Linked DNA regions of Homo sapiens: regions 2, 3, 4, 5, 6 and 7 are each linked to region 1. Evidence: promoter capture Hi-C in 16 types of primary human blood cells and fetal thymus (Javierre and others, 2016). All regions are on one chromosome and are shown on one strand. Each heading gives the region's core, a stretch centred on a gene start or on the middle of the fragment in contact. The rest is flanking DNA. Distances are from core to core; before and after follow the strand shown. Region 1 holds the start of SNX14 (sorting nexin 14). Region 2 overlaps UBE3D (ubiquitin protein ligase E3D). Region 3 overlaps DOP1A (DOP1 leucine zipper like protein A). Region 4 overlaps DOP1A (DOP1 leucine zipper like protein A). Region 5 overlaps PGM3 (phosphoglucomutase 3). Region 6 overlaps RWDD2A (RWD domain containing 2A). Region 7 has its middle 43 kb from the start of AKIRIN2.

Region 1 (4,135 bases), core at 751-3,250:
AAATTCTCTGCCATAAAGAATTTCCTTATGGCTGAAGTTTATTATATTTTTTTTCCTTTTCTAATCATAAGAGCAATTTGGAAATTTAAATTATCTATTGTCCAGTTAACTTATTCTAATTGCCTCTAAGAAATCAGATGGGAAAGAAGTCTTTTAATTGGATGTTGTAGTGATGTCTGTTTTGAACAGAACTCAAAACATTTTGTCTTTAAAATATACTGGCTCTTGGTGAAAAGAGTAATTTCAAAATAAGGCTTTAAAAGGAAGCAAAAGTTTTAAACAAAAGGCAACATAATTTACCAGGCAGGTTAATAACTTACATTATTTGTCATGAGATTAGTTTTTTAAAAGGTAATTTACAAAAGTGTAAAGCACTCAAGTCCATAGGAGGCACTTGATACATGTAGATCCACTCAACATACACCTATTTTAGTATTAACAGATAAAGATACTTAAAAACTGCCAAAGTGAAATTAATAAATGTTTAAATATGTACCTAGAAATATTAAAAAATGGTAAGCTTTCCAATGATGTTACACTGTAGTCTTTTAAATGGTTTAGTCACAAACAGAAAAGTGTATTTGTGATGTTTAGACAATAATAGCTAATCGTGAGGATCAGTGAAATTGTTTACTTTTATACACCACTGTGGAGTTGGTACCACCATTCTACAAAGCAGTTTGACTGTATCAAGAATGTTTGTTTTTACCCTTTGACCCAGTAATTGTATTAAAGTTGATTCTAAATAATTAGAAATGTGCATAGGTTTATCATCAAGGATGGTAATATCAATGGACTTTAGTGGTTAGCAATAATGGAACAGGATGGTACATTCTGATAAAGGATAATAATGCATCATTAAAGATCCATGTTTTTGTAATACGGGAAAATATTCATGAAACTACATACATCATTAAAAAACATTTGTTTCCCCACTTTGAAGGATAAGATCCTAGGAAAGAGAGATGACAGGCACAGGCTCTGTCTTTAGAACGTGTTCAAATTCCGGCTTTGTTAGTTTTATGATCCTAAGTTCCTTTCTGTCTCAGTAATTTGCCTGTATAATGATTGAAACTATAGTACTGTACCTACACCATGGGGTGAATGCATGAAGGTCAAATGAAAGTGCTTAGTGTCTGTACCGCCTAAGTAAATTTTCGCGATAATAGTCTTCCTGCATCTCTCACTGTAGCGGACAATACAGAAAAAAAAATTTAGAAATGTGATGAATTAGTAAAGGGAAAACCCCATGAGACTCTATAAGAGGGATTTTACCTAATCTGCCAACCTGCCTCTTCCAAGCACTCGGATTTTGGTTGGGCTCCCGGAGCCGGCGTGAATTGAGCTCTACCCTTGCCCGTGAGCGCGCAAAAGAGATTTTGTTGGTGGGGTGGCGGCCTGATGAGTTGTAGTCTTTATTCTAGGGCTGTTTTACTCGCCACCCCCCCAGCCCCCAACACACCCCTTTTAAAATACCGACTCAAAGGCGTCCTCCTATCCCCCTCTCCCTTAGGCGTCACGCAAAGCTCGGACCTGCTCCCACCCGGAGCCGAGTGTACGGTGAGGCGCGGAGCGTTGCGGGGTCGGGGAAGCGCTACCACCCGCTCCATCCCTCTGCGGGTTCGTGTCACGAAGACTACAGTTCCCAGCGGGCTCCACGAGCTCCGGTTGCCCCTCAGGCAGCGCCCGGCGGCTACGGGGGTGCTGTAGTTTCTTCCGGGCTCCCTACAACCTTCTTCCCTCTCCTCCGCAATACAGGCAGTTACTGGGTGCTGGGGCTGTCCTTTGATTTCCGGAAATGGCCGGTCGCCAGTGTTGTCAGAGTTTCCACGGAAGACTGCGCGCTACTCCGGCCAGGAGGGCGGAGCGGCGAGACGCTAGAGGCTTTGCGCTGGGTGACGACTTCGGGCACGTTCTACGGCCGTTCCTCTGGTCGGCTGGGGACCGCGGCCGCGCACGCGCGGCGGGGGGCGTGGGGCTGGGCCCAGCCGGACGCGACCTCAGCCTGCGGCGGCTAACTGCCGGTAGGCGTCTGTGTGCGCCGCCAAGTCGGTGGGGCGGGGACGCGAGGTGTGGATGGGGGGTCGCCTTGACCTCTGCCTCAGCCAGTAGCGCAGTCTCGGCCTCGCCGTTACGGAGATGGTGCCCTGGGTGCGGACGATGGGGCAGAAGCTGAAGCAGCGGCTGCGACTGGACGTGGGACGCGAGATCTGCCGCCAGTACCCGCTGTTCTGCTTCCTGCTGCTCTGTCTCAGCGCCGCCTCCCTGCTTCTTAACAGGTAACGCCGCAGCGCGGAGCCTGGGCGGCGGCTTTTCTCCGAAGGTGCAGACGCCCGGCCCGTGCTGCTTAACCGTGCGGAGGCCGCGTAGCTGCGGGACTGGGGACCAGTGGGGAGAGCGAGCTCCGCAGAGGAGCGGCCTCGGGGAGCACGGCGGAGCGTCGAGGCCGGAAGCACAGGCCGGTGGGGTGGGGTTGATTGCCTCCTTTCCCGAGGCTTCGTCTCCTGAGCTACCTTTTTCTCATCCATTTCTCAAAACGAGTTCTTCATCTTCGTTGCTTTTCAAAAGTGAAATCCGTGTGTCGGCTCAAATTGAGACTGTACACAGGCAGTCAAGTCAGCTGACGGAGGAGTGTTCAAGGTCCAGTTCGTAGCCGCAATTTTAGGCAGAATCCGCACACCTGCAGCGCGTTCTTCCATCTCCCCACCTCCCACCCCCTCAGCTTGCAGCTGAAGCTTTTCCCGCAGTATTGTTGAATAAAACAGACGATCATAAAGATTTGTTGGACAGAAATCAGAAAGCAAAGTGGTACCCGTCCCAACATCCTTAGAATTTTTTATTTTTGAGACGGAGTCTCGCTCTGTCACCCAGGCTGGAGTGCAGTGGTGCGGTCTCGGCTCACCGCAAGCTCCTCCTCCCGGGTTCACGCCATTCTCCTGCCTCAGCCTCCCGAGTAGCTGGGGCTACAGGCGCCCGCCACCACGCCACCACGCTACCACGCTAATTTTTTTGTATTTTTTTTTTTTTTTTTTAGTAGAGACGGGGTTTCACCGTTTTAGCCAGGATGGTCTCGATCTCCTGACCTCGTGAGCCGCCTGCCTCGGCCTCCCGAAGTGCTGGGATTACAGGCGTGAGCCACCGCACCCGGCCACATCCCTATAATATTCTTAAGAGGACTTGATGCCACCCTCCCCAAAAAAACCTGAAATATTCCGAAAGGTTAAAATTGATAAATTCAATTGACATTTTGAAATCAGAAGATTCTGCCCCCGAAATAAACTTGTTTTACTTCATTTTACTATTTCAAGAAATTGTTGCGATGCAATAGGTAGTAGAGGAGACTTTTCCATTAAAATTAACACCAGATTTGCTTTTGGTGGAAAGAAATCTGAGATAGTTCTCATTGACAGCATCCGCAAGCTGTTTTCTCTGATGTTTTGAACAGGCAACCATTCTTACTCTTTATCTTAAGGTAGTTGATTCCCAAGGATAGCAACAGGGAGGAATGCGCAAGGAATTTGGTAACTTCATTTTTCTCTGGTGTAACCATTATTTGTGACTATGTTGAAGTTAGATTTCTTCCCTAAAAGTGGCCTTGCTTTCTTGTTGATTCTTGGTTTAAATATTATTGAGCTTAAATAGTAGTTGATGTTTTACTGAGAAGTGTGCTCTGTGATGGTGAGATGTTTGAACTGTAGGAGTGTGGGAGAAGTGGGATCCTTAACAGAGGGAACACTAATTATTATTTGCTTTCTGTCATCTGGAAGGTATTCCAAGCTAGACTAACAGGTTTAGTATGAAAGAAATGTAAGCTTCATATGATTTTTATTTTTATTTTTATTTTTGAGACGGAGTCTCACTCTCTTGCCCAGGCTGGAGTGCAGTGATGCGGTCTCGGCTCACTGCAACAGCCACCTTCCAGGTTCAAGTGATTCTCATGCCTCAGCCTGCAGAATAGCTGGGACTACAGGTGGGCACCACCATGCCCGGCTACTTTTTTTACATTTTTAATAGAGACGGGGGTTTCACCATGTTGGCCAGGCTGGTCTCGAACTCCTGATCTCAAGTGATCCACCTACCTCAGCCTCCCAAAGTGCTGGGATTACAGGCGTGAGCGACTGCACGCAGCCCATAT
Region 2 (4,135 bases), core at 1,198-3,697, 2.5 Mb after region 1:
CATGTTGAAGCCCTAACCCCCAAAGTGATGGTGTTAGGAGATGGGGCTTTGGGAGGTAGTTAGATTTAGATGAGTTCTTGAGGGCGGGGCCCCCCTGATGAGATTAGTGTCCTTATATGAAGAGGAAGAGGCACTGAACTTCCTTACTCTGCCATGTCTGTTGTTTAAGCCACCCATCTATAGTATTTTGTTATAGCAGCTGAGCTAAGACAGGCTCTGAAACCCCATCCTGAGCTGGCCTCACCTCCTGTTCAGATTTCCTCCTCACCTGTCTTGGGATTTGACACCCCTGCTGAGTGGTCCTCCTGGTGGATGCCCTCCACAGCCTGCTTGGTTTCTCATATCCATGCTGGGCCACTGTGTCACCACCCTTGCACTGATGCCTCCCTTGCTTGGCCCTATGGATGCCCTCCACAGTCTGCTTAGTTTCTCAAATCCGTGCTGGGCCACTGTGTCACCACCCTTGCAATGATGCTTCTCTTGCTTGGCCCTATAAAATGACTAAAGTTTTTGGGACTGGGAAGAAATGTGATAAACCAGAGATGGGGTGGCAATGGGGACTTAGGAACCCAGTGGTATCTCTTGCGGCACTTGGAAGTGTCAACTCTACACAGTCTAGTTTGAAAGTCATTGAGGTAGCAAATGGACATTGTGTTATCTTTAGAGCAGTGGTCAGAGAACTATGGCCCATTGGCCAAATCCTACCTGCAGCCTGTTTTGGTACAGCCTGTGAGCTAAGAGTTGGATTTTTCTTCTGTATCTTTTTTTCTTTTAGACAGGTTCTTGATCTGTCGCCCAGGCTGACATGCATTGGCGTGATCATGGCTCACTGCAGCCTCCTGGGCTTAAGTGATCCTCCCCATCTCAGCCTCCTGAGTGGCTAGGACTACAGGTGCGTGCCACTATACCCAGCTGATTTTTTATTTTTTATTTTTTTGTAGAGCCAGAGCCTTGCTTTGTTGCCCAGGCTGGTCTCAAACTTCTTGGCTCAAACCATCCTCCCACCTCAGCCTCCCAAAGTGCTAGGATTAGAGGAGTGAGCTACCTCGACCTGCTGATTTTACATTTTTTAAGGGTTGTTTTTTAAAAAATAAAAAGTATAATATGTATTCTACTTTGAGACCATACATGGCTCATAAAGCCTAAAATATTTACTATCTGGTCTTTCACAGAAATAAAGTTGCTGACTCTTGTTTTAGAGGATCATTATTTCTTAAACACCATTTCTTGAAATTGAACTTTTGACTCAGGTTTGAAACTGTCATCCCTGCAAAAAACTCAGATGCTTAATATTCTGTATTGCTAACTAAGTGCAGATCCATATGCTTTGAAAAGGAACTAGCCAGAAAGTAGCTATAAGATTTTCTAAGGCAGATTTCTAAGGCCTAACCAAGATCCACACCTGAGCACATGGTCTACCCTCTGTACTCAGATGACACTCAAGCAAATGGCTTGCTGTCTGCACTTAGTTGACACCATGTGGATGACCTGCTGTCTGCACTTAAGAGGGAGCCATGGTACTTTGTACCTCTGTTGCATTGCTAAGCGTATTGCAGTTTCAGAGGAGGGTCATTTCCATAGATGCCTTTATCCCCTCTATACTTTTGATGCCTGGGGGCTTTTGACAGGGACTGTGTTTTACTCTTTATTGCCTATACTGAGTAATTTGTGTTTGCTCTGAATTGGATTAGTAAGTCCTTTCACACCTGATATTCATACATCACTGTATCGTTTTCTTCATTAATTCTTTTTATTCTTAAAATTGACAGGTTTTTGTCTTGTATCATTGTTTCACTGAATCTTGGTCTCTTTATTAAAATCTTGTATATGAAATAACAGTACTTTGCTCTGATTTACTATAAAACATTATTTTAGTGCTCTTCTCAGAAGGAAGAACCAAAAATCTGTCCCAGGACTTGCATATTATGGTGATGGTGAAGGGCACTCTGATCAGATCTAAATCTAGTGTAGGTTGCTTTCCTTTATGATCTGCTTGCTGCTGTTTTTCTGGGGCAGTGACTTTAGAGCTCCTATTGAAGAGGAAGAAAGAGATCCTTGGCCATTTTTGTTTCTTTCATCATGTGGTTTTCATTGTGAGAAATAATTTGTTTGGGTTTTGTTTTTAATTACCAGAGAACCGAAAGAAGGAGGTATGCCCATGAATATTTCCATAATGCCATCTTCACTCCAGATGAAAACCCCTGAAGGCTGCACAGAAATCCAGCTTCCAGCAGAGGTCAGGCTTGTACCTTCCTCTTGCCGTGGGCTACAGTTTGTTGTTGGAGATGGACTGCACCTGCGACTGCAGACGCAAGCAAAATTAGGCACAAGTGAGTAATATTAGCACTTCTGCTGCTGTATTTACCTTTTTGTTATAAACCAAAGGTGATTTTTCCTTTGATAAGTTGAACTTTTCCCAGGTGAAGGGGTTGAGAAGCTCTAGGGTCTTTGTCAGCTCTGCCAGTTATTGGCTGTATGCAATTGAACATGTTACTTAACCTTTCTGAGGCTTCTTCCCTCCCTCCCTTCCTTCTTTCTTTTCCACCCACAGCAAAATTGAGCAGAAAGTATAGAGATTTCCCATTTACCCACTGCCTTGTTTCTTTAATTGTAAAATTTTCTGGCTCACAGATGGGAAGATTAAATCAGATGGCAGTTGTATAAGACCTGATTGATTTTAAAGCATTACATGGAAATTTATTCATTCAACAAATATTTTGGTTTGTGCTATGTGCTAGGCATCAATCTAGGTTCTGGGGATACAGAGTGAACAAGGTAGGGGAGGTGTCTGCTCTCATGGAGCTTACATTCTAATTGGTGGGAGCAGATAATGAGCAAACAATTTAAATATTAAGAAAAGTGTTATGATAATATAAAACAGAATAATGGGATAGGGAGTGACTAGGGTTGGCTGAAGGATGATCAGTGAAGGCCACTCTGAGGAGGTAATGTTTGACCTGAGTCCTGAATAAGGAAATCCTATCCATGTGGGGACTGTTCCAAATAGAGAAAACAGTACACAAAAGGTCCTACAGTTGAGTTTGATACTTAATTTGATTTTAACTTTTACTATGCCTGTTATATTTACAACATTTTGTAACTGGTATAATGATTCGGTAAGGCAGTGGAAAATTTGCTTTTTCTAAGACCTCAGGGTTATTTATTGTATAAAATTATTGGTTCATTACATCTATTACAATGTACGTAATATATGCTTTGGGGGATTAAAATTATGTCAAAGGGGGAAATAGGCTGTAAAAGACTTATGTGATGTTTATTATCAGAGAAAGATTGTAATTCTTTCAGCTGCACACTGACACTTCGCTGCTGCCTCATCTGTAATAAACCTTTCATCTGCGCTGTGTGGATCCTGGAGATGGGGTCAGGAGGAGTGTTTGGAAGAGCCATTTAGGAGATGTTGAGTATTCCCCTGAGTCTGTGCTCTTGGCTTTTGTGAGGAAAGAGAAGATAGAGAGGGTTTCATTTCTTTTTTACTGGAGAGCAATTTTTGCTCAAGTCCTGGGTTAGTGAATAACTAGTTTGAGTTGGGCAGGGTTAGTTTTAGGAACAAAGGGTAGGGAAAAGAGATGTCATGGCACTTAAATGTTGTAGGATAAATACTAGGAATGACTGTTGGAATAACCATAGCAAGAAGGTTAGGGTCACCGAGCTGGGAAGTAGACTCCCTGATTGCACCTAATAATGGGCAGAGAAAGTGTTGTTTCAGGGAAGAGGCCATGGGAGGCTGGATGTTGTGTTGTCATCACCTTCTCCTTCACAACAGTTACCTCTTTCACAAGAGTAACCACAGCAGGAATTTTGTGTTGGGTTCTGAGATTTGGGAAAGGCAAGCATGAAAGCCACAGTGGAGTGTTTTCTGGGATTGTGATTTTAGAGATGGAGGAATAGAGACCACCAGGGACATAGTATTGGGTTTTTGCCCATCCATATTCTGTATTCTGTAACTGAATATACAAATATCAAAACTGGAATTATTTTTAAAAATTTAAATCTGCAAACATTGTTTAAACTATAGGACAAAATAAATTGACTGCTATGTGCTGATTTGCATATTGTTTGTGTTCACTGGTCTCCTATTTCTTTACACTTTTAATATATTTTGCTCAAATATCTG
Region 3 (4,135 bases), core at 777-3,276, 2.5 Mb after region 1:
ATCCCCTCTCATGTTTTAAGGTTAAGATGGTAACAAAACAACAATATTAATAATGCTCATCATGAAAGAACAAAATAACTTTGCTGAGGTGTTAATTCTGTAAGAGAGAATTAACTCTAGATATTTTTGCAGATTCTGAAGCACGTAATAGAATAAGAACCAAAATAAGGTATTGCTTAATTATTGTAAAAAATCTCTACAAAACATAGGCACCCTCCAAAATACTGATAAACCATAAACTGTTACTACACCTCTCCTCACTTTCCATTTCACAGTACCTCTGTTGTCAGAATATCACTCCAAGAAATGCTGTAAAGTCTGTCAAGCACTGCTATTATTTTCTGAATTTCCTTGTTTTCCTTCATTACTGTCAACAGCACCATCATCTTCCTAATTACACAAGTTTGTACTTGTGCGATTTCATTTGGAGCAGTTTAATAAAGTCTACAAATGTGCATTTTTCAGAATGGTCTTTAATTCATGCCTATTTTATACCTGGACTATGTCAACAACCTATTTTCACTACCTTCACCTTCTCCAAGAGCCAATTAATTTTACACAGGAAAAAGCAGGTGGAGCATGTTCCCTGCTGGAAGCTCAGAAAAGTACATTTGATAATCCCTGGAAAGCTCTTTAGCTCAGTGTTAACTTAGCGTATAAGAAGTGCTCTTATTACTGCTATAATTGTGATATTCATTTTCTTAGACATGAAATGCAAGCTGTTAGCCATATAAAGCCTTCATAAAATAGACCCATTCCTTCAATCTTATTCACACTTCTGTCCCAGCTAAGCAAAACCTAGGCAATTGTCCACTGTTCAAGACTTGCTCCCTCCCATCTCAGTGCCTTTACACATGCTATTAATTTTGTGGATAGAATTTAATTTTCTATTAAATTATACTCAAACTCAAAATGCTATGTCTCTGCATGATACCTAGTGATTCAACCCCTTTGACCTAATTTTTAAATCAGTATCTTTTTCAATATTCAGAATAAGCTTGTCCAACCCACAGCCCAGAACAGTTTTGAATGTGGCCCAAGAAATTCGTAAACTTTCTTAAAACATTAAGAGATTTATGCATGGACCTTTTTAGCTTATCAGCTATAGTTAAGTGTTAGTGTATTTTATGTGTGGCCTGAGACAATTCTTCTTCCAATGTGGCCCAGGGAGGCCAAAAGTTTGGACACCCCTGATTTAGAAACATGGCTTACATGACAGTATAAAATGTAAAAAATGTACATATGCTTCATGTTTCTAGAAGTTTAAAGTCCTTTTTATTTTTTTGAGACAAGGTCTCATTCTATCACCCAGTCTGGAATGCAGTGGCACAATCATGGCTCACTGACGTCTCTAACTCCTGGGCTCAAGCAATCCTCTTGCCTTAGCCTCCTGAGTAGCCAGGATTACAGGTGGGTGCCAACATGCCTAGCTAATTAAAAAAAAAAAATTTTTTTTTGTAGACAGGGTCTTACTTTCTTGCCCAGGTTGGTCTTGAACTTGTGGCCTCAAACGATCCTCCTGCCCTGGCCTCCCAAAGTGCTGGGATTACAGGTATGAGCCACTGTGCCCAGCCTATAGTCCTTTTTAAATTGTTTTTAAAGCATATAACATTTACCATCTTTTTTTTAAGGGGTCTTGCTATGTTGCCCAGGCTGGTTTTGAACAACTGGGCTCAAGCAATCCTCTGGCCTTGGCCTTCCAAAGTGTTGGGATTACAGGAATGAGCCACTGAGCCTGGCCAAAATTTACCATCTTAACCACTGAGTGTACAGTTCAGTAGTGTTAAGTACATTCACATTATTGTGCAACCAATCTCCAGAACTTTTCATCTTGCAAACTGCAACTCTATACCCATTAAACAACAATTCTATTTTCTGCTTTTATGAATTTGACTACTTTAGATACCTCATGTAAGGGGAACCATATTGTATGGGTCTTTTTATTATAACTGGCTTATTTCACTCAGCATAATGTCCTCAAGATTCATCCATGTTATAGCATGTGTCAGAATTTCCTTTTTTAAGGCTTAGTAATATTTCATTCTATGTAGATACTGTATTTTGCTTATCCATTAATCCATAGATGCACACATAGGTTGTTTCTACCTCTTGATTATCACGAGTAGTGCTGCTATCAACATGGGTGTGCAAATTCCTCTTCCAGATCCTGCTTTCAACTCTTTTGGATATATCCAAAAGCGGGATTGCTGCATTTAGAGAGTAATTTTTTAAACTTTTTTTGAGGAATGGCCATACTGTGTTCCACAGGGGCTGAACCATTTTACATCTCTACCAACAGTGCCCAAGAAGTTTCTAATTTCCCTACATCCTTGCCAAAACTATTTTTTTTTTAATAGTAGCCATCATAATGGGTGTAAGGTTAGGTATCTCTTTGTGGTTTTGATTTGTATTTATCTAATGATTAGTGATCTTCAACATTTTTTTTTCTTTTGAGATGGAGTCTGCTCTGCCTCCAGGCGGGAGTGCAGTGGTGCGATCTTGGCTCAACCTCCCAGGTCCAAGCGATTCCCTTGCCTCAGCCTCCTGAATAGCTGGGACTACAGGTGTGCACCACCACGCCCAGCTAATTTTTTGTATTTTAGTAGAGACCGGGTTTCACCATGTTGGCCAGGATGGTCTCAATCTCCTGACCTCATCATCCACCCACCTCGGCCTCCCAAAGTGCTGGGATTACAGGCCTGAGCCACCACACCCGGCCTCAATATCTTTTCATATGTTTGCTGGCCATTTATATATCATCTTTGGAAAAATGTCTATTTAAGTCCTTGGCCCATTTTAAAATTCAGTTACTTTGTTGTTATTGAACTGTAAGAGTAGCTCTTTCTTTATATATTCTGGGTATTAGCCTCTTATCAAACACATGATTTATGAATATTTTCTCCCTTTCCATAGTTTGCTTTTTCACTCTCTTGTACTCTCTGATGCACAGAAAGTTTTAAGATTAATACAATCCTATTTTTTATTTTTGCTTTTATTGTCTGTGCTTTTGCTGTCATATCCAAGAAACTGCCAAACTCAATGTCATAAAGCTTTTCTCCTATGTTTTCTTCTAGGAGCTTTATAGTTTTAGGTCTTATCTTTAGGTCTTTAATCCATTTTGTGTTAATCTTTGTGTATGGTATAAGATATACAACTTCATTTTTTCACATAGGGATATCAGTTTTTCCCAACACTATCTGGTGAAGAGGCTATCCTTTCCTGACTGAGTCGTCTTGGCACCCTTGTCAAACACTGTTGGACCGTATAAACTAGTGTTTATTTCGGGGCTCTCCATTCAATTTCATTGATCTATATGTCTGTTTTGGCCAGTACCATACTATTTTGATTACTATAGCTTTGCAATAATTTTTAAATGCATTTTTTGAGAGCCACCCTTTTATTCCTTCTGTTTCAAACACTAAATCCTAACTTGACCTGACAAGTACCTACTTATCCTTCAGGTCTCAGATTTTATCCCTTTTGGGAAGTCTTCCAGGACCATTCCACCATTCCCCTAACACTCACATATACACCTCCTTCCTGTGAACTCCCATGACATGCTATACTTCCTCTATCATAGAACTTACCTTGCTTTATTGTAATTGAACTGTGACTCCAGGGGTGGTAATCGCTATAACAGAGAGACCTCATCTGTCATTTTAGCTCTCAAATCCCCAGCTCCTAGAAAAGTGCCTGACCCACGGTAAACAGTCAATAAACATTATAAAAATTGAATGACAATAGAATATTCTCAGTTGGTAAAAATAATGAATTAAGTGTATACATTGATTTTTAAAGTGCTAACATATATTAACTAAAAGAAGCAAGGCACAGAATAGTGTTTATAATATGCTATCATATTAAAAGAGGGAAAATATATATTAATTTGCATATGTACAATACATATCTGAAAGAACACACAACGAAACTAAACATTACTTCCTAGGAGACAGGTGGTAACTGGATGGATGAGGGCCCAGGAAAAGGAGTCTTTTCATCATACAGATATTCCTTGACTTATGGCTTATATCCACACAAACTCATCCTAAGTTGAAAATACCGTAAGTTGAAATGTATTCAACATTTCATTTAGCATTGCTGGGCTCAAGCAATCCTCTGGCCTTGGCCTTCCAAA
Region 4 (4,135 bases), core at 1,186-3,685, 2.4 Mb after region 1:
TGACCATTTTATGGTCGTTCGGCATTTGAAGCAAATTGAAAAGGTGAAAAAGCTCAATAAATGGGTGCCTCATGAGCTGAGTGAAAAATAAAAAAATTCGTTGTTTTGAAGTGTCATTTTCTCTATTCTATGCAACAATAATGAATCATTTCTCTATCGGATTGTGATGTGTGCCAAAAGGTGGATTTTATACGACAACTGGCGATGACCAGCTCAGTGGCTGGACTGAAAGAAGCTCCAAAGCACTTCCCAAAGCCAAACTTGCTCCAAAAAATGGTCATGGTCATTGTTTGGTGGTTTGCTGCCAGTCTGATCCACTACAGCTTTCTGAATCCAGGTGAAACCATTACATCTGATAAGTATGCTCAGCAAATCAATGAGATGCACCAAAAACTGCAATGCCTGCAGCCGGCATTGGCCACCAGAAAGGGCCCAATTCTTTTCACGACAACACTGGGCCGCACGTTGCACAACCAACGCTTCGAAAATTGAACTAATTGGGCTATGAAGTTTTGCCTCATCTGCCATATTCACCTGACCTCTTGCCAACAAACTACCACTTCTTTAGGCATCTCAGCAACGTTTTGCAGGGAAATTGCTTCCACAACTAGCAGGACACAGAAAATGCTTTCCAAGAGTTCGTCAAATTTGGAAGCATGGATTTTTATGCTACAGGAGTAAACAAACTTATTTCTCATTGGCAAAAATGTGTTGATTGTAATGGTTCCTATTTTAATTAATAAAGATTTGTGTGAACCTAGTTATAATGACTTAAAATTCATGGTCCCAAACAGCAATTACTTTTGCACCAAACTAAAAATATAAGTTAAAATGGAAGAGTCTAGGAGCAAACCAAGAAAAGATCACCTACTTCATCATCTCTGGTCAAAAACAAACCAAAAAACTTAACAGCTATCACTTAAGTTTGCTTCCTAGCAATTATTTAGCTTCCAGTCTAGATTACAGGATATATAAAACTTTCTTTCTTTCTTTCTTAACTATGACACTGGCACCAATGAGAGTCCTGTGACTGACTTTCACATTTCCACCATTACTCAATTACTGGTACCATACCACCTCTAATCCCCTAAATCAAACTGCAATTCAACAATAAAGGGCGTACAGAGATGACTTTGTCCTGAAGGAAAATGAATATCCTTGTACCCTCTATATAGCTAACTTCCAAATGTAAGAGAACTATGGGGTAACCTTTTGTTTCTATTCCTATCAAGATGAGCCTTTAAGAGAGGGACTTTTATTAAGCTCTTGACCAAGAAGAATACACTTGATTCAGAGTTTCTGATGCTCTTAATCAGAACTATATGTATTGTCTCAATATTAAATAAAGTCAAATGTTTCCATACAAATGATTTCTCCTTTGACTTCACCAGTCCACACTTGAAAAAAGACTTCCTTCCTGTTTACCTCCCTTGTACTTGTTGACATTCAGACCTGGGTTTGTGTCTCAATATTTGGCAACTTTTGCTGCCATATCATAAGCATGAAACAGCCACCCTCACCTGATGCTTGGCCATCTCCAATCCCTCCAAAATCACTGTCTTAAAGTCCTCCTCCTTGTCCTGTGGAAGGAAAGAGGAGAACTCACAGCCTTTGTTCCAGTGAAAAGTATGCTTGGCCATGAAGACCTTGTTTAAGGTGATTTGGATGGGAAGATGCCTTTCAATCAAAATAGTTTTCTTATTCTGTGGGACAAATTTTGGGCAAAAGACTGTCATATTTATTATTTAGATAAAGGAGGGGGGTCTTATAAAAATTCTCATTACTAATGAAAGGCAGGCATAACAGAAAAGGACATGTGCCTGGGGTCATATTTGCTTCTGGATTTGTCATGATTACTTGCCCAAACTCTGAGATATCAAATTGAAAGTACCAAAGTCCTACCCTGAACTCAGGACCCAGCATACATCCTCATCTCTGTCCTTTTATTAAGCCCCTACAGAAGCAACTAGGAATTTAAGTCAAGTTTTCTCATGTAAATTCCTTCCAGCAAAATCTCTTTAATCACTTTCTTCATTCCATTTTTATAGTTATGGAATTCAGTTTAAGAGCTGCTGCCTGATTAGGAGGACTCCAGAAGACTGGAAAATTTCTGAGCACTCAAAGCACACACTGCATACTAGATCTCACCAGACAACCTAGATCACTCCCAAATTGTACAATTTGATTTTGAAATTTGTTGAATGTAAAAGAAAATTTGACAAAAGGTTAATAACAAAGGCCCAATGGTGAGCATACCAGTTTCATTGCTGGTAGGTTCTTGGGCAAAGATCTGTAATAAATTAGCATGATGCATACTGAAAGATAAAAAGTATATAAGACAATATTTTACAAATTTTATTTTCCTACACTTTTTAATGGTATATGTTTTAAGTAAATTCCCACTTTTCCCCTTAAATAATTTCTCTAAGAAGATGCTTTATATTAAAGAGTCATAAAGCCAGTTTAACTCTGAGCACTGTTTTAAAAACTGCAGGTTGTGGGGGTCTTGCAATCTGTACTCAGCATCATCACTGTGAACTACAAAAAGGAAAATATCTCATGTTAAGGGCAAGAACTGTTTTGTGAAACTTTAGATTCGGTTATATAGCTGTACTGGATCAGGATAAGGAACACATTTCTGAATGTAGGTTATAATCAGAAAGTGAAAAATACTTAGAAAATGAATTTTAGCATATATATTTTATTTCATATAGATAAACAGAATGAATGCTAATGATTATTTCCTTTATTCTGATCGAGGTCTAGCTCATTCAATTTCAATGAAATCTGACTCATATTTTACAAATTTAAAATGTATAATCTTCTTACCCATTGATTAGTTCTGTTGAAACAACTCTGACAGGTTCTAAAAATCCCTTTTGTACTGTATTTTTTTCAATCAACTCATACTTTTGTTTGTCATCATGGCATTAAGATGAACATTATATTACATTCTCAAGTTTTTGACACGAAGAGTGTTCAGGACTACAGTCTTAAATACTCACATGTATGGTTCCAAGGTTTTTATTTTCTTTTTTGAGGGGAAAACATTTTAAGGTAGATGTTATTAATGTACAAAAGCCTTCCTTTTTCTTCTTTAAAAAAATGAATAACCGCATATTCCTTTAAAATACATACGATATGTTTTCTAATGTCTGGAAATATGAGGCTTATGGACATTAACTCTCAAAACTGGGGACTTGTTTTCAAAATAGCTCAACTTGATAACGTTCTCAGTTTCCCAGGAAGTATTTAATAAATACCTCACTAATGCAACATGTAGTGATGTAAAACAAAACAATCACAAAAGAATGCGATACCTTTGCTCTTTTCCGAAGAAGTTTTGCTAGTCGTACCACGTAAGGTTTAAATTCTCGTTGATGTATACCCTGCCTTCTGACTTCCAAACCTGAATCATCTGAGGCTTCTGGAATAAAGGCCCATCGGTACCTATGTATAGAATAATGACATCAGCATCAGTAAGACAGACTTTGTGCCATCTAAGATTAGGCCACATAATGTAGTAGAAAGATCATGACCCCACTGCTTATAAAAATTCAAATGCCAGATGTGCCACTCGTAGCCTTGTCACTTTGGGTATGTTTCTTAACCTCTCTGAGCCTTCATCAGTAAATAAAGATACTATTAACTACCTCATAAGGTTGTAAGGAATAAATATGAAAACTTGTAAAGTACTCATCATTACTTTTTTCATGAGTCCAAAGCAAGTACTCAACAAATGTTTCTTTTCTCATTAGCGAACAGGCATAAGGTTCTTAAAAGGAAGATGTTTTCATTTAGCTTATCTCTTTGTACTGCAACATAACAGTCTGACAAAGACTTGATTTTTCAACATATAACTGGCCAAATGTTCCCTAGTTGCATAGTAAAGGAGTAAAAAATTGAACGAATTTAAGAAAACTAAGGGCTTTTTTTGCACTTCTCTTGTATTTTTGTTTGTAATTTTGTCTTTCATAAGTAAGTAAAAGTAATATCCGACCATGGGAAAAATTCAAACAGTATAAATGGGCATACCAAAGAAAGGCAGTCTCCCCTCCCCGCATAGGATTCATCAATGTTGTCAGCTTCGTAAGTCCGTCCAGAGAGTTTATGCCCAAAAGAGTATATATTCACA
Region 5 (4,135 bases), core at 165-2,664, 2.4 Mb after region 1:
GGGGAAAGCAAAGTCAGGAAATGGCATTCTAGAGCAGTGGTTCTCAAACTGGCATGTGTCAGAATCACTTTGAGGGCTTGTTAGCACACAGATTCCTGGGCTCCACTTCTGAGTTTCTGGAGGTCTGGCATAGGATTTGCATATGATAGAAATTTGCATTTCTATCAAGTTTGCAGGCTTTGTTCCCAGTGCTTGTCTGGGGATCCCTTTTTGAGAATCACAGATCTACAGGGGAGCATAGTAAGTATTATTAGATACCTTATCTGAATTAAATACACTATGGAAAGCAAATGTAACTCTGCTTATACAGTTGTTAGCAATCAGTGTTTTCCACTCAGTGCAGAATAGGAGGAAGACTTTTCTTCAGATTTTAGTTGTAGTAAGAGGTGTTCTGGATTTATCTGCATTATAGACCCTAAATTATTTGCTTAGGCCAAACCTGACTTGCAGATATGTTTTGTTTGGCTGGCTGCATTTGTGTGTTTGTCTGTGTGCCACTGTTTAAAAATTCCGTGACTTCTCTTATATATTGGAATCTCTAGCATCTCTTTACCAAAATCAGAAAATGTTCACACATGGCATTAGTCCACTACAGTCAGATAGATGCTGCTCCCCTAAAATAGGACATGCATTCTGGAACTCTACAGACTTCATCCAGTTGCCTCATTCATTCATGTTATTATGCTTTACTTAGTAAGCATTTAAAATGTCAGTGTAGTCAACCAATTTGAGCTCCTTTTCATTGAATTGCTTGTTTTGACATTTACTTGACAGTTCAGTTCTGCCACTTATTTATCCATTTCTTAAATACTGAGCTCTTACTCTCTATGCTCTAGGCTTTGGGACTACAGTATGAACAAAACCATAGTCCTTGCTTTCCTGAAGCTTGCATCATGTCCTTTCATCAATCTTATGATCCCATTCCTGACAAAAGCCTTTTACTTCTTAGTTGTCTCATGTTGAATTTGTCACTCTGCTGCTGTCATGGCTAAGGAATAGCCAAATTTTCTAATAAATTTGATGTGACAATTGCTGAGATTTCAGCAACTTTATGTAAATTTCACAGGCCAGTTATCTCTCAAAGTTATAATTCTTTGCTCTTAATTATCAGTGTTTCTTTTTATTGGTGGTATGAACAAATAAAAATCATTTCTGTTAGAATTAAAGCACATACATCATCTAGTGCTGATTATTTTTTCTATGTAAAGGAGATCACGGTCCTAGGTAAATTACATTCAGAAATACATGTAGCTTTCAAAAAACCTTTATGGGACACCTGTCTAGCCAAACCAACCTGCTTATAAAGTGGAATTTTATGGTAGTATTATAGCAAATATCAGCATAGATTTTGAATGCTCCTTTTTTCACTTTGCAGTGAAAGAATTTGACCTGTAAAAACCACTAATAAACTATGTACTATTTAAAGATTATACACTATTTAAGATTAAGACATTGATTTTTAGGTGGATAATTTTAAGAGAAAATTCTAAAACTCTTTATAATAAATTCTTAGACTGAAATGCATGTTAAATTATCCTGTGTGCTAGGAATGGAAATTAAGTCCAATGAAAGATGCTGTTCTTTTGATGGAGATGCAGACAGAATTGTTTATTACTACCATGATGCAGATGGCCACTTTCATCTCATAGATGGAGACAAGATAGCAACGTTAATTAGCAGTTTCCTTAAAGAGCTCCTGGTGGAGGTATGGTGGGGGGATTGGCTACCCTCTAAAACAAGACTTAGTAGTGAAATAGTTCCATATTTTACAATCATTTGTCAGAAGGGCACAATTTATGACAAATTCTTTACATTAGTGGGCAGAAAATTAAAAAAAGAGCAGTGGTAATACCCAGTCATTTGAACATTTGAGGCATTGGCTTTGGAACCTGAAGGTACTCTTTTCCTCCTTATACTGGCTGAGTTTTGTGATTTGAAGCTTTAGGAAGTTTTGCTTCCATCATAATTGAAACTTTGATGACAGTTCTGTGGTCACTCCATAAAAGCCCTAAATTCTAATAGGAAATCTCATCATCTGATATATTAACTGATTATGATAAGCTTAGTAATGTGAGATTTGTTTCATTTTGCTATTTTAGAAATAAATCTCAGGCTAGCTTTAAGTACACAATGTAATTGGAAATTATTATAATCTGGAAACAGCATACTTTAAGAATTTAATAGATTTTTTTTTTTTTTTTTTTTGAGACAGTGTTGCTCTGTTGCCCAGGCTGGAGTGCAGGGGCGTGATCTCGGCTCATTGCAACCTCTGCCTCCCTGGGCTCAAGCAATTCTTCTGCCTCAGCCTCCCAAGTAGCTGGGATTACAGATGCATGCCACCACACCTGGCTAATTTTTGTACTTTTAGTAGAGATGGGGTTTCACCATGTTGGCCAGGCTGGTCTCGAACTTTTGACCTCAGGTGATCCACCCACCTTGGCCTCCCAGAGTGCTGGGATTACAGGCGTGAGCCACCGTGCCTGGCCAGATACTTTTATTTAAAAAATTAAAGAGGTGAAGATCAGGAGATACAGGCTTCTTAAAAGAGGAATTCTCATAGAATTGTTTTAAATAGTGTTCAAATGTATTTTAGGCTTTTTTCCTGGCATACATGTAAATTTTCAGTCAGACATTTTTGGCATAAACTAAGGCACAACTGAACTGGCTGATAATTTTGGTAGCCTTTAGAACTCTCATTATATTTGTTTTTGTAGACCATACTTTTGATGGCAAGTTAAGTATCATTGTTTTTGTCTAGATTGGAGAAAGTTTGAATATTGGTGTTGTACAAACTGCATATGCAAATGGAAGTTCAACACGGTATCTTGAAGAAGTTATGAAGGTATTGAACCATTTTTGTTTTCTGGTAGTTTCTTAATTAAGATCATGTTTCTGTGAGAAAGATACTGCCCTCATAAAAGTGATTATGTTGTAGTGCATGAAGCTGAGCTGCTGTTCATGTAAAGGTAAAGAGAAATAAATAAGAAAAAATTTAGTTGTCCTTGATGAATAAAGGAAAACTTCTTTCCTTCCTTTTCTTGGAGTTTTCCTTTAGAAAACTTGGAATTCTTTCTCTGTGCCTTTGTAATGAATGTAAGTCTTTCTAAAGGCCTAATAAGCCAGTTTTATAGCTCAGGAATACTTTTCTTTAAGGGCCTAGAGTCACCAATTTCAAATATAAACATCAAGGAAGATAGCTCACCTATCTCCCAGTCTCAGGAGAGTTTAACTTAGGTGTTTGCGTCCAATTTGTAACTATCTACCTGTCACAGAGGTATGAAAAGTTTTATTACTCCTTTAGAGAAGGGCAGTTAACACAGGTGGCCATCCCTATTACCAAGTAAGTTTAGGATAAACTATGTGTGTGACAAATGGTGGTTTCAAGTTTTCCTATTTGAGGACTAGTGTTAAAGAAAAAATAATTCATGACACTTGTTAAAATGGTAAGGCAGACTTGATTCAGGACTGTTGTGATAGGTACAGGGACTAATGTGATGGAGTTTTGCAGTGGTAGGAGAAAGATTGGGCTCAACTCCAAATATAGTAAGGAAAAGTAGGGCTTTATAGCCAAGGAGCAGGGTGTGTGGGGGGTGGTCAGTGGATGAAAAATTACTGAGAGGAAACATGAGGGTAAGTGGGTGGTATTTTGGCTAAACTGATCTAACAGGACTTTTGCTGAAGGTAGGCCAGGGCGGTCACATATTACCTGGGGGATGGTAGAGAATGAGAACTCAGATCAGATGTCAAGAGTGGTCATGTATCAGGATGAGGGATTCTCGCTAAGCTCACTTAGCATGACTCTTATTAAAATCGGGCTATTGGAAGACATGCCTAAGGACAAGGCCTAGTCAGGCCCACCTAAACCTAACTAAAGTTTGGTCAAGGAGAGAATTTTTGTCATTAGCCATCTTTTATCTTAGCAAATTGTATTGGAATGTGTCCGCTTGGCTATATTAAAGGGTGAGCGTTTATCTTTGCTATCTCTTAGCAAATTAGCCTGTGATTGAACATCAGTTTGGCTTAATACTTATTCAGTAATAAAACTGTTTCTTACCCTTCTTTTTTTTTTGGAGAGGTTTTCTGGGGTGGTGGGAGATTCTGTTTCTAATTATTTCCCCGGTGTCCACCAGGTGAC
Region 6 (4,135 bases), core at 758-3,257, 2.4 Mb after region 1:
AGAAAAGCCTGACTGGAGCCACCAAGATACAGTGTCACCAAATTGCCACAAACAGATATGAATGAAAGACCCCTAAAGATGCAGAACTCTGTAATTATATCATAAATGTTTCCAAAATCTTTTTTGAGGCTCCCATTTGCTAAGATAACAATGCACTGCAGAAAGGAAAAACTATTAGGCCTTTTGGAGGTCATCTGGGAACAGCTCTGAACAAATATAAATTTCTCGGGTCTCTGAAACCACTGTGGTCTATAGAACAAAGTATATGCTATAGGAATAAACCCATCCCCCACTTATTTTTCCAGTAAAGAGTTATAATTTATTTCTTCATCCTCTGTGGCAATATACCCACATTGGATCCCTGATCCATAAAAAGAGGGTTATTCTCTCAGGAAGTATGAAGAGATTTGCAGAGATGAGTCCCACCATCAAAAGCTTTGAAAGCAGCAGGAGTGTGATTCTTATCACATCTTGCTTTAGCATGATCTTTGGCATATGTAGGAGGAGACAGATGGGTCTCTAAGAATGACTTCACAGGCTGGGCTCAGTGGCTCACACCCGTAATCCCAGCACTTTGGGAGGCTGAGATGGGCAGATCACTTGAGGCCAGGATTCGAGACCAGCCTGGCCAACATGGCGAAAAACCATCTCTACTAAAAATACAAAAATTAGCCAGGCGTGGTGGCATACACCTGTAATCCCATCTACTTGGGAGGCTGAGGCATGAGAATCACTTGAATCCGGGAGGCAGAGTTTGCTTTGAGCTGAAATTGGGCCACTGCACTCCACCCTGAGTGACAGAGCGAGAGAGCAAGACTCCGTCTCAAAAAAATAGAATGGCTGCACATATTCCGAAACTTAAGCAGATGGTGATTCCAACTGCAGCTGCTGTCATATAAGTTCTTTTTTCTTGGAGCAAATCAGAAAGTAGCTGGCTACTGATTTGGTCAATGCTTTTTTGTTTTTCCTTTATTCCAGTAAGTAAAGACCACTTGAAGCATTTTCTTTATCTCAGTAAGCAGCAATGTAGATTGTCTTTTTCCAACATTACATTAACTTTCTATGTCAGAATATCAGTCTCGATATCAGACCTTTGATCAGCTTACCACTATACAGGGCAGCATGCTGTATGCCTCCAGGTGATATTCTGATTGGACTTGGAGAATGGAGTCATGTTTCCTGGATGCCTAGTAAGATGTGTCATCCCAGAGGGTGAACGATAAATCCCATGAAAGCACAGAGCCTGCAGCCAAGTTTTGTAGAAGTCCAGTGTCTGGTACATGCTGGGATTTCCCCTTCATTGTGAGGAACAAATTGTGTACTTTGTTCCTTCTATAACTAAGGAGAACTCCCAGGGTTTGGTGGGTGATATGGTTTGGCTGTGCCCCTATCCAGATCTCACCTTGAATAGTAATAATCCCCATGTGTCAAGGACAGGACCAGGTGGAGATAATTGAATCATGGGGGTGGTTTACCCCATACTTCTCGTGGTAGTGAATAAGTGTCACGAGATCTGGTGGCTTCATAAAGGGGAGTTCCCCTACACAAGATCTCTTGCCTGCCCCTATGTAACATATCCCTATGCTCTTCCTTCGTCTTCTGCTGTGATTGTGAGGCCTCCCTAGCCATGTGGAACTGTGAGTCCATTAAACCTCTTTCCTTTATAAACTACCCAGTCTCGGGTATGTCTTTATTAGCAGCATAAGAATGAGCTAATACAGTGGGCTTACTTAAATTCTGTGTACCCTGCTCAAATTCATTCGGGGGTTGACCCAAATGCATCTAGTTTTGACTGGGATCAGAAAGAGAGGTCTCTCTAGCTGGTCCAGGCTATGGTGAAATTAGTTCCACCATGTGGACCTTATGAGGGAAAGCCAATGGGCTCAGAGTTTCTGTGGCAAATCAGGATTATGTATAAAACCAGGAAGTGTGAGCAACACTGTGCCCTCTTCAGACAATAACTATTCTTTTGACTTACTACTGGGCTACTTGAGATAAAAGCAAGTGAAAAAAACCTGTTCAAAAGGGTTCCATGAAGGCTGCAGACAGACACCATCAGAACCTTCTCAGGTTCTGAGAGGGGATGGATGGCATGTAAGGAGTTATATGTGAACGCTCAAGTTCACAGGCAATGTATGTTTGATTTAATAAGGAATGTTTTAGAGGTCCCTGTGTTGTGGTCTGCCAACTCATCTGGCCTACTCAATTCACTATGCAGGTGTCCTCAGCTCTTAGCCTAACACATAATAGACCAGTAAGGAATGAAAAGCAAAGAACATACTTGACGATATGCTTCATTTACTTCAGCAAACTTTAAAAAGACACTGTAACTTTTATAAATGAGCACATTTTCCAAATAACCATTTAAGAATATAATAAACAGAATATCCAGATTCTTAAGTTACAAGCAATAGAGACTGATTCTGATTTCCGACAACAAAAGGGAAGATGCTGGGTCATTCAAAGGAAATGCCAAACAGCTGAGCATTCAGTAGGTCAGAAATGAGGGTGGCACTAGAGGTTTAAGCAGCAAGAGCTCACAGCCATCTCTCCAGGAGGCTGCCAGAGGACAACTTGATTCCTATCACTTTCTCTTCCCAAATCACACAGGGAAGGGGCAGTTTCCCAAAATAAGCTGTGTGTGTAGGGGGAGGGGGTTGGGGAATGACGGACTTTTATTATGTGCTCATATCAGGCTGTGCAAACAACCAGCAGACTCCTATACATACAAAGTTGAGTTTTGAATTATACATGTACTTTTTTTTTCTATAAAACCTACACGTCCCCATAATACTATCTGCATTAGTTTTCCTGATAGGAAAAAAAGTATTGCAGAATGCTCAAATTAGACTTATTTATAAAAAAGTAGGTTCTGAAAAATCTCAGAAATAGCTCCAGAAGCAGTAGAGTTCATAACCTAGAATTTATTGCCTTTTCTTTACACCCATCTTTCTGTAGCTACTTTTGCTCATGTAATCAGGAAAAACACCTCTATAAGGTAGGTTGATGGCACATATTGATTCATTTGGATGGAGTTACATCTGTTGAAGGCCTAAAACTTGTAAATGCGAATTATACTTATTGATAGCTTTGTGGAGACTGTGGGGGAAAAAGATTCCTATACTTTGTTGTTTTTAGTGCTGGCAAACATTAAGAAGTGATTCCTTGGCAATGTAAGTCCTATTTCTTCCCTTTGCATATAGGCAAAGTGTCAGGCTCCAGCCTGAGTTCCAGCACAACCAAGGCTAGGATGGAAACATGAATGGCAAGCTGGAGGACCTGGCGGGGCAGGCCTACAGCGAGCCATGGGTTGAAGATCTGAGTTGTGCCCTGAGAGGACACTCATTGTGACCTAAGAAGAAAGAGGCAGTACAAAGTGGACCCAGTTCTAACACCTCCTTGGGATAGGGCCTCCTGCTCCATCATGTCCTCTCTGTAGCCCAAGGACACGTCTGCATCCACGGCACAGAGGGTAAAACCAGATGGTAGTTTCATCAGAAGTTCTGTAGGCTCCCCAGCACAAGCAGCACTGTCTGACATCTAACAGGATGTGTTCCTAAATCCCAGCACCAAGCTTTGGCATCTTGAGAGGACCCAGTAGGAGAATGGAATGCCTCCCGGGAAAGGGCAGCAGTAGCTGACCACAGAAACACGGAAAGCTGCAGAGGCTGCTCAAGACATCTCTTAGCACATGAGACTCGCAGAAATACTTGGGGAGGGATGGAGACCTGGTAATGAAAAGGCTTGGCAAGAGCTACTTAAATAGCGGTTTTTAATCATTAAAATAAACTCTCATTTTGAAAAGCCTGGTGAAGCCTGTGGAGCTTGGAATTTTCAGAGGAGATGGCAGTAACATCATCGGACTGTAGAATTAGATTTTTTTTTTCCCAATAAGGTAATGATGCAGATATCCACACTGGTCCCCTCAACAGTCTCTTGCCCTTTATAGTAATGCATACTGGCACACAGGCAAAGGTTGGATTGAAACAGGCGAATACTTTGTAGACAAGGAACCATGTGTTTATCTTTTCTGGATAAGAATTAAACTAATACTGGTATCAGGATTGCTAGTATCATGAACTGATATAAACAGCCAGAACACATAGCATTGTGTGTCATCTTTTAACTCGTGGGA
Region 7 (4,135 bases), core at 1,173-3,672, 2.2 Mb before region 1:
ATGCTAGGCTGTATTCTAAGGGATTTAGGTATAATATCACATTTAGACCTGTAGCAGTCCTATAATGTAGGGTCTATGATCATCCCCATTTTATAGATGTGAAGGCTGAAGAATGAGGCAGTGAGCACACTCACCTAAGAGTCAGTCTGAATGAACCCAGTCTTGCCCTGGAGCCTGTGCTGTATACCACATTGGACGTCAGGGTATCTGGCCATGTGCAGAGCTGCAAGACCCACCAAATATTAGCTACATATTATCAGCCATCTAGTCAACCCACTGAAGGTCTAGAGAGGCACACTGAGGCCCAGAGAAATGAATGACCTTACCTGGATTATATAGATTGTTCCCAGAAAAATTGGGCTAGAAGCAGGATCCCTGGTTGCCAGCCCAATGTGGTGCCTTCCCCCATGACACAGGACCTTGCCTCTGGTCTGTTTATCATATGACATCTGCAGGTTGGTTTAGCGGTAGTTAATGAAATTAGTCAGTGTTTCTCACAAATGGATCTCAGAGTGTCCATCCCACCCAGACAATTATGTTGAATATGCTCAGGAGAAGGAGAAGGAGGAGAAGAAGGAGGAGAATGAGGAGAAGGATGAGGAGAAGGAGGAGGAGGAGGAGGAGGAGAAAAGATATTGAAGGCTGTTTCCCTCTCAGTAAGGTTCAGTTTTTTTCTCCACAAGTTTTAAAAAAATGGGAATCTCTTCTAGAATGTTAACATCTGCTAGATGTTATTAAATACCAATTTTCTAGCAACTGAACCATTGGACATTCTTGCCTAAGTGAAACAAACCCTACTTGTGCTTCTCCACGGGTACAGAGCTTTAATTAAAGGCATGTGATTAAATATTTTCCAGTTAACTTAGAAAAGAGAGCCACAAGGTAAACAGACAGTGGATTAACTGAATTTTTTTTTAACTCTTGATCTTTCTGCATTTATTTTCAAGTTCATTTGTCATTTAATTTGTTGTCACAAATATTTTAGATTTTCCAGATTTAACATTAAATTTGAAATTAAACATAACATAATCATGAATTCCAGATTTCTTAAAACTGGAATACCGGATACCTAACTAGCAATTTGCAGTTTTATACTCTGCCCTCCACCCTTTCAGGCAACAGACAAGGCACTAACATGTTTCAGAAATTTGTTAACAGAGAAAACAGTAATTTGTGCTGTCATCTCCTAGGTGAAACAAACACCCCTGTGTCTTCTGTTCTCTCTAGGAAGGATGGAGGTGACCTCCTCCCTTAGAAGCCTCCTCCATACTGAGAGGAGGGAGAGTTTTCCCAGGATGTACCTCTTTCAGACATTTTTAAAAGCTTAGTTCTTCCTTCCAAATTTGGTGGGCTATTTAATTGAGACATGTAAAATGTGAATGTGGGTTGGGTGCAATGGCTTTTGCCTATAATCCCAACAATTTGAGAGGCTGACGTGGGAGGATTATTTGAGCCCAGGAGTTTGAGACCAGCCTGGGCAACATGGCAAAACCTCAGCCCTACAAAAAATACAAAAATTAGCCGAGCATGGTGGCACGTGCCTGTAGTCCCACCTACCAGGGAGGCTGAGGTGGGAGAATCACCTGAGCCAGGAGGTAGAGGCTGCAGTGAGCCATGATCATGTCAATGTACTCCAGCCTGTGTAAAAGAGTGAGAACCTGTCTCAAAAGAAAAGAAAAAAAAAATTGAATGCATTCAGGACAAATAAATGCCATGAAATCCAGATTCTCTGACTCTTCCTTCAGAACCTATTTGCTCTCCTGCTGAAGAGGTCCCCCAGGATTTGATCACAGCCTGGTGTCCCAGTATCAGAGAACCCAACCAACATTAGCATTATAACTATCAGAGCAATGACCATTGTTTGAGGGCCCACTGTGAGCTTACTGTGTTATCTGATTCAGCATGAGTGGATCACCTTCTTAGAAATAGGACTGTCGGCCAGGATGTGGTGGCTTATGCCTGTAATCCCAGCACTTTGGGAGGCTGAAGCAGGTGGATCACGAGGTCAGGTGTTTGAGATCAGCCTGACCAACATGGTGAAACCCAGTCTCTACTAAAAATACAAAAATTAGCCAGGCATGGTGGCGTGCACCTGTAATCCCAGCTACTCGTGAGGCTGAGGCAGGAGAATCGCTTGAACCCAGGAGGAGGAGGTTGCAGTGAGCCGAGATTGCACCACTGCACTCCAGTCTGGGCAACAGAGCAAGACTCTGTCTCAAAAAAAAAAAAAAAGGAAAGAAATAGGATTATCCAGGCTGAGGGTGGTGGCTCACACCTGTAACCCCAGCACTTTGGGAGGCCGAGGCAGGTGGATCACTTGAGGCCAGGAGTTCAAGACCAGCCTGGTCAATTTGGTGAAACCCTGTCTCTACTAAAAATACAAAAATTAGCCTAGCATGGTAGCAGGTGCCTGTAATCCCACCTACTCGGGAGGCTGAGGCATGAGAATCACTTGAACCCAGAAGGCAGAGGCTGCAGTTTGAGCTGAGATCGCACCACTGTACTCCAGCCTGGGTGACAGAGCAATACTCTGTCTCAAAAAATAAAATAAAAAAAGAAAAAAAGAAATAGGATCGTCCATGGCCGGGCACAGTGGCTCATGCCTGTAATCCCAGCACTTTGGGAGGCCGAAGTGGGTGGATCACCTGAGGTCGGAAGTTCAAGACCAGCCTGACTAACATGGAGAAACCCTGTCTCTACTAAAAATACAACTTAGCTGGGTGTGGTGCTGCACGCCTGTGATCCCAGCTACTCGGGAGGCTGAGGCAGAAGAATCGCTTGAACCCGGGAGATGGAGTTTGCAGTGAGCCGAGATCGTGCCATTGCACTGTAGCCTGGGCAACAAGAGCGAAACTCTGTCTTGAAAAAAAAGAAAGAAAGAAAGGAAGGAAGGAAAGAAAGAAAGAGAAAAGAAGAGAAAGAAATAGGATTGTTCAGTAAAATCAGGCATTTTTGTCCTGTCCAGGCAGTTCTGCCTTTACAGGTCAGAGAAAGAAAGGAGAAGAGTTGGTTTACATCCACTTTCTCTTTTTGAGAAGAAAGTCACCCTCTAAACTGCCACATAGGCTATTTTGCTGGGAGCTCTTCCATTGTCTTTTTAAAATTTTAATGTGTAGTAATCTTGACTCTTGAATGAGGGACCATCAGAAAGAACTTCCTAGTCAAGTTGTAAGGGGGCGGAGGTGTAGACCTTGTTCCAGGTTCTGCTCATTTCTTCCCCTGCCCCTCCCAGACCTGTCACAGATTCAGGGCTGGTCAAATCTTGTCCCAAAACCAAAGAAATCTGCCCCAGAAGACTTCTGAGATTGTCACAAGATTTCTAGTTATCAGAACCAAGGCCATCCAGGCCTCCAACTGAATCTAGATAAAAACCATCTGAATTGAGAACATTCTAGAAACAGAGATCAAGGACAGGATGATACTTTGTAACTATGGGAGGGAATATGGCTTCTCATTTTTCAAGAGAAAATAAAAACAAGATTTCTTGACGTTCTTTCCACTGAATGCTAAAGAAAGCTTCATTGTTAGCTGTCTCCTCTCCCAAACAATAAGGAAGCAAACAAAACAGAATAGAACACCCCTGTACTTCAGAGGTCTTTTTTCTCAGTGCTGCATGTTTTATGCATTATGAACTGAGGTTATCTTTTTCTTGTTAGGGTTTACATAGAACCGAGATAGCCATTAGATATTCTGATTATTAAAGAAGTTAGAAATATTTTTTTAACTCTAAAGGGGCTTCTCTTATTTAATTCTTTTAAAAATCTATTACTGTAATGCAGAGCATTGTCTTTGTCATTATAAAGAATTTTTAAAAATGATAACTAATACAGTCTTATTTTTGAAATTGTCTTCTAGTTCAGAAGGGAGAGGGAGAGTAAACCAAGAATATGAAAAAGCAAGAAAAGCATTAAGTGCGAAGGGATCTTTTAAAAACTTGTGTTAGGAGTGGTGGAAGGTAGTATTTCGTAGTGTTCCTAGGATTTCACTAATGAGCAGATTGAGGATACAAATGATTAATAAAACACATTATCTTGGCCTGAAGCATCTTCCAGGCTAGTTGAAAGACAAGCATGTAAATCAATTGATTACAGTTAAAAAGACAAGAGCTTTAAGGAATAGAAATGACATGCTGTGA

The links. The method cuts DNA at HindIII sites, captures the fragments that hold promoters and counts their contacts. A CHiCAGO score of 5 or more calls a contact.
Region 2: a contact is called between a fragment that was not itself captured here and the fragment with the promoter of SNX14 in region 1, in 6 of 17 cell types (activated CD4 T cells, non-activated CD4 T cells, total CD4 T cells and 3 more). The highest score is 12.4, in activated CD4 T cells.
Region 3: a fragment that was not itself captured here is called in contact with the fragment with the promoter of SNX14 in region 1 in 6 of 17 cell types (total B cells, non-activated CD4 T cells, total CD8 T cells and 3 more); the score reaches 15.9 in total B cells.
Region 4: a contact is called between a fragment that was not itself captured here and the fragment with the promoter of SNX14 in region 1, in 7 of 17 cell types (total CD4 T cells, total CD8 T cells, naive CD8 T cells and 4 more). The highest score is 16.7, in total CD4 T cells.
Region 5: a fragment that was not itself captured here is called in contact with the fragment with the promoter of SNX14 in region 1 in 6 of 17 cell types (non-activated CD4 T cells, activated CD4 T cells, monocytes and 3 more); the score reaches 10.2 in non-activated CD4 T cells.
Region 6: a fragment that was not itself captured here is called in contact with the fragment with the promoter of SNX14 in region 1 in 4 of 17 cell types (total B cells, naive CD8 T cells, naive CD4 T cells and 1 more); the score reaches 6.1 in total B cells.
Region 7: a contact is called between a fragment that was not itself captured here and the fragment with the promoter of SNX14 in region 1, in 5 of 17 cell types (M0 macrophages, non-activated CD4 T cells, M2 macrophages and 2 more). The highest score is 15.7, in M0 macrophages.

The regions. Positions count from the first base shown.
Region 1 is chr6:85,591,723-85,595,857 of GRCh38, reverse strand. SNX14 (sorting nexin 14) reads left to right here and starts at 2,000. Exons shown (of 29, transcript NM_153816.6): 1 at 2,000-2,279. The coding sequence starts at 2,140. RefSeq lists enhancers at 1,708-1,827, 2,138-2,307, 1,756-2,339, 2,340-2,923, 2,924-3,509 and a silencer at 1,858-2,077. The HindIII fragment of the contact is 2,215 bases long and covers 523-2,737 here.
Region 2 is chr6:83,056,021-83,060,155 of GRCh38, reverse strand. UBE3D (ubiquitin protein ligase E3D) reads left to right here. Exons shown (of 10, transcript NM_198920.3): 2 at 2,134-2,330. Among named protein-coding and RNA genes, the nearest start is that of UBE3D, 7.8 kb to the left of the region's middle. The HindIII fragment of the contact is 7,857 bases long and covers 1-4,135 here.
Region 3 is chr6:83,074,826-83,078,960 of GRCh38, reverse strand. All of the region lies in intron 1 of DOP1A (DOP1 leucine zipper like protein A), which reads right to left. Among named protein-coding and RNA genes, the nearest start is that of DOP1A, 9.2 kb to the right of the region's middle. The HindIII fragment of the contact is 2,053 bases long and covers 1,000-3,052 here.
Region 4 is chr6:83,162,105-83,166,239 of GRCh38, reverse strand. It overlaps DOP1A (DOP1 leucine zipper like protein A), which reads right to left. Exons shown (of 39, transcript NM_015018.4): 38 at 3,321-3,450. PGM3 (phosphoglucomutase 3) reads left to right here. Exons shown (of 13, transcript NM_015599.3): 13 at 1-1,367. Among named protein-coding and RNA genes, the nearest start is that of PGM3, 29 kb to the left of the region's middle. The HindIII fragment of the contact is 5,842 bases long and covers 1-4,135 here.
Region 5 is chr6:83,177,380-83,181,514 of GRCh38, reverse strand. It overlaps PGM3 (phosphoglucomutase 3), which reads left to right. Exons shown (of 13, transcript NM_015599.3): 7 at 1,548-1,705; 8 at 2,759-2,842. Among named protein-coding and RNA genes, the nearest start is that of PGM3, 14 kb to the left of the region's middle. The HindIII fragment of the contact is 1,054 bases long and covers 888-1,941 here.
Region 6 is chr6:83,197,079-83,201,213 of GRCh38, reverse strand. RWDD2A (RWD domain containing 2A) reads right to left here. Exons shown (of 3, transcript NM_033411.5): 3 at 2,279-4,135. Among named protein-coding and RNA genes, the nearest start is that of RWDD2A, 5.8 kb to the right of the region's middle. The HindIII fragment of the contact is 3,139 bases long and covers 438-3,576 here.
Region 7 is chr6:87,742,816-87,746,950 of GRCh38, reverse strand. No RefSeq gene overlaps it. Among named protein-coding and RNA genes, the nearest start is that of AKIRIN2, 43 kb to the right of the region's middle. The HindIII fragment of the contact is 2,193 bases long and covers 1,326-3,518 here.